2 separate regions of the Homo sapiens genome follow, and region 2 is linked to region 1. The links are contacts of gene promoters, found by promoter capture Hi-C in blood cells and fetal thymus (Javierre and others, 2016). All regions are on one chromosome and are shown on one strand. The core of a region is centred on a gene start or on the middle of the fragment in contact, and the rest is flanking DNA. Distances in the headings are between cores, read along the strand shown. Region 1 holds the start of C11orf91 (chromosome 11 open reading frame 91). Region 2 has its middle 3.5 kb from the start of QSER1.

Region 1 (4,498 bases), core at 1,367-3,866:
GCTTTGGAGCCCAGGGAGGGAAAGGTTCTGCTGAAGTTGAATTCAAGACTGTTCTTTCATCACAAACTTGAGTTTCCTGGACATTTGTTTGCAGAAACAACCGTAGGGTTTTGCCTTAACCTCGTGGGTTTATTATTACCTCATAGGGACTTTGCCTCCTGACAGCAGTTTATGGGTGTTCATTGTGGCACTTGAGTTTTCTTGCATACTTGTTAGAGAAACCAAGTTTGTCATCAACTTCTTATTTAACCCCCTGGCTATAACTTCATGGATTATGTTATAATTAAGCCATCCAGAGTAAAATCTGTTTAGATTATCTTGGAGTAAGGGGGAAAAAATCTGTAATTTTTTCTCCTCAACTAGATATATACATAAAAAATGATTGTATTGCTTCATTTAAAAAATATAACGCAAAATCTCTTTTCCTTCTAAGGGCCTTTAATATGTAATAACAAGAGCTAATGTTGAACACAAGCCATTGCCAGGTACTTAAACTGTCTCACTTAGTCTTGCCAACCTAAGCAAGTAGATGCCATTACTATTCCCATTATATTGATGAAAAAATGAGGTTGAGAAAGGTTCAGCCGCACAGCCAAATACATAGTGGATCCAGGGTTTGGTCCCAAGTCTTGAGTCCAAAACCCTGGTTCTTACCATTACTGTGGTTCTGTAGGGGTGAAAAAATTTTTCTTCTAATCTCTTAGGTTCAGAGCCTGGGGCCTGAGAATTAAACTGACAAAGACAGATTAACAGAAGACAAAGTTTATTACGCAGGTACATGGGGTTCTTACAGAAACAAAGTGAAAACCCAAAGAAGTGGCTTGAGAGCTTATATACAATTTTAACAATGGGCGATTGTAGAAAAGTGATAAGACAAAGGAAAAGAGGTTTGAGCTTCTTGGGCAGTAAATTATGGGAAGTTAAATATGTGGGGGAAACTAATGGAAGATAAGGGTATTTTTTATTTTATTTTATTTTATTTATTTTGAGACAGGGTCCTGCCTTGTCACCCAGGCTGGAGTGCAGTGCTATGATTGTGGCTCACTGCAGCCTCAACCTCAGCCTCCTTGGTTCAAGAAATCCTCCCACTTCAGCTCCTGAGTGGCTCCAGGCAAATGCCACCACACCTGGTTAATTTTTTAAATTATTTTATAGAGACAGAATCTCGCTATGTTGCCCCTGGCTGTTCTCAAACTCTTGGCCTCAAGAGATCCCACCTCAGACTCCCAGAGTGCTGGGATTACAGGCTGGGTGCTGAGCTATCGCACATGGCCTGTATTAGCCATAGACTGAGGGGAAATACATTTTCTTGAGAGCCTCAGCCTAGTGATCACTTGTATGAATAAACAATGATGGGTGGCTGCCAAAGTCAGAGAGCAAATACTGCGTGTGACAACTAAGTGTGGGAAGCTCAGTGTGGGAAGAAAAAGCTTCCCAGTTTCAGACATGCCCCTTAGTAGGGACAGCTGCCTCTTGTGTTTGGACAAAGTGTCCAAGTTCAAGTGTTTCACACACACACTGTTCCGTCTTCTGTTTGATCACAACCCTATGAGGCAGCCTGGTTTTCTTATTTCTATTTTATGGAAAACCTACTTAAAAGTCAAGCAACTTGTCCAAGGCTACCCAGCTTGAATATCTGACTCTCTCCACTTTGCTGCTACACACACACACACACACACACACACACTTTGCACTGTGTGTGCAGATACATATGCATATATATATTTAACTTGTGAAGCTGATACTGACTCTTTAACTGCCCTCCACCCATCACTAGTCATACCAGTGATCATTAGGCAGAGGCTCTCAAGAAAATGTATTAGTTATTTCCCCTCAGTCTATGGCTAATACAGGTTACTCACATAAATGAGCTGTCATGTCCTTTGGACAAAATGTCCAAATCGCTCATAAGCAATGGGTGAAGTATTTGAGGTAGGGCGGACAGGATTTCCTTTTGGTGGTTAGCTCGTTGCCTGTTAGCTCCTGGTGATATCTGTGTTTGGAAGAGAACTAAACTGCATTTCACTGAAAACACTCCTTCAGGTCTATTACAAACCAGATGAGGATCCCCTTTTCTAGAATCTTCCTCAACACTGCTAACGTTTGGCAGATACATAGGTTGGCTCTAACAGCCATTCCCAATCAATCCTCTTCTCCTTTGTCTGCCTCCCACAGTAGTGGATGAAAAATCAGACACTGATTTTCTCAGACTTCTTTGCTGTGGGCGCGGCCAGTGAGGCAATGAGGTAAGTCTGCTGGTGCAGGGGCCAGGTTTCTAGGAAATACTTTTCTCCCTCATGGGAGAAAGAGAGGAAGCCTGAAGTAAGCTTTCTTCTGCAGCCCTGGCCCGCTGCCTGTTCTGGATGAGGGTATGCTGGGATATGACAACGGAAGCCAGCGGGGTCGCAGAGCAAGAGCGAGGCGGTGGGCGGAGTCGAGGGACGGGAGGCGAGGCGAGGCGAGCCAGGGGGCGTGGCTTTCTAACTGCGGGGTGCGGCCAGCCGAGGTGGGCGGGGCCGCGTTCCGGGACGTGGTCGTCCGGGCTTTGGAACCCCGCCTGTTAGGGGCCGGGCTGAGGCGAAAGGGTGGGGCCGCGCTCCATCGGGGCGGGGCTTGTGGAACCTCGAAACCCCGGCGACTCGGGGCCTGAGCGCGCGTCTCCCGGCGCGGGGTTCCTCCCACGCAGACCCTCATTCAAACGATGCCAAAGGGGCGGCGCGGCAGCCACAGCCCCACCATGAGCCAGCGGTCGGCTCCGCCCCTCTATTTCCCGTCCCTGTACGACCGCGGCATCTCCTCGTCCCCGCTCAGCGACTTCAACATCTGGAAGAAGCTCTTCGTGCCGCTGAAGGCGGGCGGGGCGCCAGTGGGCGGGGCGGCGGGGGCCCGGTCCCTGTCCCAGGCGCTCCCCGCCCCGGCGCCCCCGCCCCCGCCACCACCCGGCCTGGGTCCCTCCAGCGAGCGCCCCTGGCCCTCGCCCTGGCCCTCCGGCCTGGCCTCCATCCCCTACGAGCCTCTGCGCTTCTTCTACTCACCGCCGCCGGGGCCTGAGGTGGTTGCCTCGCCCCTGGTCCCCTGCCCCTCGACCCCCAGGCTCGCCTCTGCCTCCCACCCGGAGGAGCTCTGCGAGCTGGAGATCCGGATTAAGGAGCTGGAGTTGCTCACCATCACTGGGGACGGCTTCGACTCCCAGAGCTGTGCGTGACCTCGCCAGGGCCACCGAGCCCAGCCTTAGCCTGCCCTAGCTCCCTCCTTGGCTCCGTGCCCCGACCCGAAATGTAGCCTGGTTTGACTCCAGCCCCCAGTAGTCCCAGATCCAAAATCTATCCCCTAGCACCCAGACTCCCTTATCCTGGACTTAACCGACTCCTCCCCCCACCACAGATCTGAACTTCATGAGCCTCTTAGTCCCAAACTCCATCCTCCCTCCGTCCTAAACCCTTTGGGTCATCTGGACTCTGAGCCTCCACACCTGGAACTCCATCCGCCACCACCCCGTCCTGAACTTTAATCCTCCTGCACAGTCATCCTCCTACCCTGTACTCTGGAGCTCCACCCACCACAGACAGTCCCTAAGCTTTAATGTTCGGTCCTAAACCGGGGCTCTCCATGGGGGGAAGGTGAAGTAAGGTGACTGTCAGTTGTCTGTAGGGGGAGGTGGGAGTTGTGCAAGAACCACAAGGCCCAAGGCCGTTTCCAGGGCAGCTTTGGGACACTCCACTTCTCAATGCTGGGGGGCAGCCCCCCTGGGACTCTGTGGCCTTGGCGCCGGTAGTTCTCTCACCAGGATCCTGGGCTGATATCTGGTCTTACGTCTGAAGTCTTAGGGCTCTGGACCACGTGTGCTGATGCGGGCAGGATCCCTCAGCCTACGAGCTGAATGACTCCTCCCTGTTGGAGGGTAAAGTTGTTAAATGCCTTGTACTCCAAGAAGGACCTATTGCAAAGTAGAACTTTCAGTAGCGGTAGGTTGTCCTGCAGACTTTGTCTTTCCCATCACTTGTTTTGGCTAAGGCTTGTCCTTGACCACTGGAGAAGGGCAGATAGTTCTAAAAAGATCATTCCAACTATCGTATATAACGGCTTAAGTTGGCTTCCCCTGCCACACAGAGAAGGGAAGTATGAAATAACCTAAATGCTTAGGTCCGTGTGGCCATGGAAATGGTCTTCAGTTCATCAGACACACTGTAATGCACCCTTTCTCATAGCCATGGAAGGAAGACAGTCCCTAGAAAAACTGGGCTTTGCTAAGTCCTGGATTTCTTAACTATGAATACATACATAATACTATGTATTCATAGTTAAGAAATCTTAACCGAATACATAGTTAAGAAATCCAGGGGCCGGGTGTGGTGGCTGGCACTTGTAATCTCAGCACTTTGGGGGGGCCAATGCGGGTGGATCATTTGAGGTCAGGAGCCTGACCAACAAGAGGATCATTGAGGACCAGCCTGACCAACATGGTAAAACCCTGTCTCTACTAAAATACAAAAATGAG
Region 2 (4,498 bases), core at 849-3,348, 810 kb after region 1:
TAATCTGGTGTTGGATCTGCTATGCCTTGCGAGATTAATTTTGTTCTGGAAGATCCTGTTTTCCTCCTGGCGCCTACATCCTTTTGTTCCTATTCATTCCTTTTTGCAAGTCTTTCTGCACCTGTGATGCTTGGAGCCTGGTCCCCGGGTGGGGAAGCAAGGAAGTGAGTAGTCGTTATTTACACATGAATTCAAACGTGTAGGCACAGCGACTTTGCCAATTTTATGTTAATTACAAAATGCATTTACTGAGGATATCTTTGAAAAGTGGTTTTTCTTTGAAAAGGAATTTGCGAACTAATCTGAGTTCATGCAGAGAAGTAACGTAAATCTTCATTACATTTATTTTTCTTCCTGCAAACTGGAAATGTGGGATCTAAATTAAAAAGTTTTCACAACTAGCTATTATATTTATAAGTACTTTTGTGAGCGCTAAAGTTTTGTCTCTATGAAAAGTATAGGAAATGGAGTGGCATGCTATAAATGTTTTATGACACTTAGTTTGAGATACCCACAACTGGCACTCAGAGTGAGTTACGCAGGCAATACCAAACAAGTGGCAATAAAACCTTTATAGTCCCTCACACCATTATGTAGTTTGTTTATGTCACATAAATCAGGGAAAGATATTAAGGGAAAATTCTAGTGAGTATTTTTAGTAATATTACTCTGTCACCATATGTTCCTTTGCCATTTAAATGAAATTTCCTTAGTTCACTCTAAATCAGTACAATTATATTTATTTTCAAATGTTACATGTCTACAAATAACATCATTACATTTTTTATCAATACTATTTTTAATTGACAAATCATAATTGCATACATTTATGGGGTACAATGTGATGCTTTGATATATGTAAATAAATCTTTTAAAAATTTTGTACACTTGATGATACTATCTGAAGAATGTCTTCTTCCCTACTGAAAATATACTTCCAGCTCTGTGAACGTTTCGGGATCTCTCAAATGATTCGTAACCAAGCTGCTTCAAGTCTGATCTAGGTAATGTCAAACTCTAGAATGAGCATTGTTGGTCCCGTGTTTTTGTTTGTTCGTTTTTTCAGACAGTCTCGCTCTGTCGCCCAGGCTTGAGTGCAGTGGGGTGATCTCGTCTCACTGCAACCTCCGCCTCCCGGATTCAAGCGATTCTCCTGCCTCAGCCTCCTGAGTAGCTGGGAATACAGGCGCATGCCACCACGCCCAGCTAATTTTTTTGTATTTTTAGTAGAGACGGGTTTCACCATTTTGGCCAGGCTAGTCTCGAACTCTTGACCTCAGATGATCCGCCTGCCTCAGCCTCCCAAAGTTCTGGGATTACAGGCGTGAGCCACCGCGACCTGTGAAATACGTATTGATTTTCTAATGGGATGGGAGTTAGGGTGGAAAATGTGGGGAGATTGTTCATGGGCATGTTCTAAGGCATGACTAACTCTAGACAATAAACTCAGAAGGAAGTGGGAGATGGAGGTGAGGAAGAAGGAAAGAGTTTTTTTTGTTTTTTTTCAGACAGGGTCTCGCTATGGTGTCCAAGGCTGGTCTTGAGCTCCTGGCCTCAAGCAATCCTCCCACCTCAGCCTTCCAAAGTGCTGGAAGATTCCTTCTTAAGTGTAGGATTTACTCCAATTCATCTTAAAACCAAACTGCCTTTGATTTAATCAATTTTCAAATCTTGCCCCGATTTTAGAATTGAGATAGAGTGTTTTGGTTTTTCTTTTTTGGGGGGGAAAGGAAAGGAATATGTAAATGACTAATTGGAACTTCTGAATGGGCATTTTTTTTTCTTAGATAGCGTCTTGCTCTGTCGCCCAGGCTGGAGTGCAGTGGCGCGATTTCGGCTCACTGCAAGCTCTGCCTCCTGGGTTTTACGCCATTCTCCTGCCTAAGCCTCCCGAGTAGCTGGGACTACAGGTGCCCGCCACCACGCCCAGCTAATTTTTTGTATTTTTAGTAGAGACGAGGTTTCGTCGTGTTAGCCAGGATGGTCTCGATCTCCTGACCTCGTGATATGCCCACCTCAGCCTCCCAAAGTGCTGGGATTACAGGCATGAGCCACCGCATCCAGCCTGAATGGGCATTTTTAAAGTAGCTTACATATTTATTCATTCAATAGATATGTATTTAGAGCCTAATACAGTGCCAAGCATAATACTAAATGCTGTGAATACGAGGGTAAATTTAATACAACGCCTGTCTTTATGGAACCTGTAATTTATGAGGAAAAGAGGCAGACACACAACTAATTGTAATGCAATAGGATAGTGTTAAATATAATAGAAATTGGAATAAAGCACCAGAGGACAATTGAAAAGGAAGTAATTGATTTTGCCTCTCAAAAAAAAAAAAAAAAGAAAATAAGTATTTCAACTGGTAGAAAGATTGTAGTTCTATTGAGTACATAGTTCATTGCCTTCCTTTTGTAGTTGAGGAAGCTGAGGCCTGGTATTGAGTGACTTGCTTTAAGATGATGGAGGGAATCAGTTGGGGTGAGACCCAGGAAACCCCATCTTCACTGAGGTGGCCTTGTTCATTAGCTTGTTGGGAAATGCAGAATTTGGGGTTGCCTAACTAGAAATGTAGTCAGTAAGTCCACACATTCCTATGTTATAAATAGACCAACCATCAAGAAGAAAGATCCAAGAAGGTCAAGTTTGTGGTTTCACTGAGAATACAAGGAATATGTGTGTGAGAAGTGATTTGAACAGGGAAAGAAGATATGGTTTTAAATTTTTCCCTTCTCTTCTGGCATTGAGGGAAACTATAAGCCCTGTCTTTGCCAGAGCAGCCCTGGTTTCCATCTCTTAGGTCAACATCATAAATTAAATTAAAACATCAGAAAGGAAATAAAAATTAGCCAGGCATGGTGGTGCACCTGTAGTCCTGAGAGGTGACAGCGTGCTGGCAGCCCTCGCTTGCTCTCGGCGCCTCCTAGGCCTTGGCGCCCACTCTGGCCACACTTGAGGAGCCCTTCAGCCCACTGCTGCACTGTGGGAGCCCCTTTCCGGGCTGGCCAAGGCCAGAGCCGGCTCCCTCAGCTTGAGGGGAGGTGTGGAGGGAGAGGCGGGGGCAGGAACCGGGACTGTCCGGGGCGCTTGCGGGCCAGTGCCTGTTCTGGGTAGGCGTGGGCTCGGCGGGCCCCCCACTCGGAGCTGCCAGCCAGCCCCGCCAGCCCTGGGCAGTGAGGGGCTTAGCACCTGGGCCAGCAGCTGCTGTGCTCGATTTCTTGCCGGGCCTTAGCTGCCTCCCCCGGGGGGCAGGGCTCGGGACCTGCAGCCTGCTATGCCTGAGTCTTACCCCCTGCTGTGGGCTCCTGTGGGGCGGAGCCTCCCCGATGAGCGCCGCCCCGCTGCTCCATGGCACCCAGTCCCATCGGAGGCCCAAGGGCTGAGGAGTGTGGAGCACTGCGTGGGAGTGGCAGCCAGCTCCACCTGCTGCCTGGTGCGGGATCCACTGGGTGAAACCAGCTGGGCTCCTGAGTCTGGTGGGGACTTGGAGAACCTTTACGTCTAGCTTAGGGATTGTAAATACACCAATGGGCACTCTGTATCTAGCTCATCTAGTGGGGACGTGGAGAACTTTTGTGTCTAGCTCAGGGATTGTAAATGCACCAATCAGCACCCTGTCAAAACGGACCAATCAGCTCTCTGTAAAGTGGACCAATCGGCTCTCTGTAAAATGGACCAATCAGCAGGATATGGGTGGGGCCAGATAAGAGAATAAAAGCAGGCTGCCCGAGCCAACAGTGGCAACCTGCTGGCATCCGTTTCCACGGTGTGGAAGCTGTGTTCTTTCGTTCCTTGCAACAAATCTTGCTGCTGGTCACTTTTTGGGTCCACACTGCCTTTATCAGCTGTAACACTCTCCGTGAAGGTCTAGCTTCACTCCTGAAGCCAGGGAGACCACGAACCTACGGGGAGGAACGAAGAACTCCAGACGCGCCGCCTTAAGAGTTGTAACATTCACCGCAAAGGTCTGCAGCTTCACTCCTGAAGCCATCCAGACCACGAACCCACCAGAAGGAAGAAACTCCGGACACCCTCCGTTTAAGAACTGTAACACTCACTGCGAGGGTCTGTGGCTTCGTTCTTGAAGTCAGTGAGACCAAGAACCCGCCAATTCCGGACACAGTCCTAGCTACTCCAAAGGCTAAGGCTGGAGGATCACTTGAACCCAGAATTTCGAGGTTACAGTAAGGAATGATCATGTCACTATGCTCCAGGCTGGGCAACAGAGCAAGACTCTGTTTCTAAAGAAAAATTAAAATAAAAAAAGTTAGAAGGAAACTAAGTCCCACTATAATTTTCTCTGTCTCTGAGGCTTGACCCTATCAATCATCTTTTGACTCTGCTCATTGTTGTCTGCCATACCCCTCCAGGGAGACAGCAATGGAATCAGGAAAGCTGCTGTTTAACCCTGCTTCTCTGGAAGCTGCAGCCTCACTAGGGGGTGTCCCTGAAAGAGCTTCAAGAAACATACTTGATCATCAATTTTGTGCGGAG

The links. Contacts are between HindIII fragments. The CHiCAGO score rates a contact against its expected background, and 5 or more counts as called.
Region 2: a contact is called between a fragment that was not itself captured here and the fragment with the promoter of C11orf91 in region 1, in 1 of 17 cell types (total B cells). The highest score is 5.0, in total B cells.

The regions. Positions count from the first base shown.
Region 1 is chr11:33,698,944-33,703,441 of GRCh38, reverse strand. C11orf91 (chromosome 11 open reading frame 91) reads left to right here and starts at 2,616. Exons shown (of 2, transcript NM_001166692.2): 1 at 2,616-3,197. The coding sequence starts at 2,702. CD59 (CD59 molecule (CD59 blood group)) reads left to right here. Exons shown (of 4, transcript NM_000611.6): 4 at 1-432. RefSeq lists silencers at 2,441-2,680, 2,861-2,950. The HindIII fragment of the contact is 1,250 bases long and covers 2,330-3,579 here.
Region 2 is chr11:32,887,107-32,891,604 of GRCh38, reverse strand. No RefSeq gene overlaps it. Among named protein-coding and RNA genes, the nearest start is that of QSER1, 3.5 kb to the left of the region's middle. RefSeq lists an enhancer at 1-443. The HindIII fragment of the contact is 5,575 bases long and covers 1-4,498 here.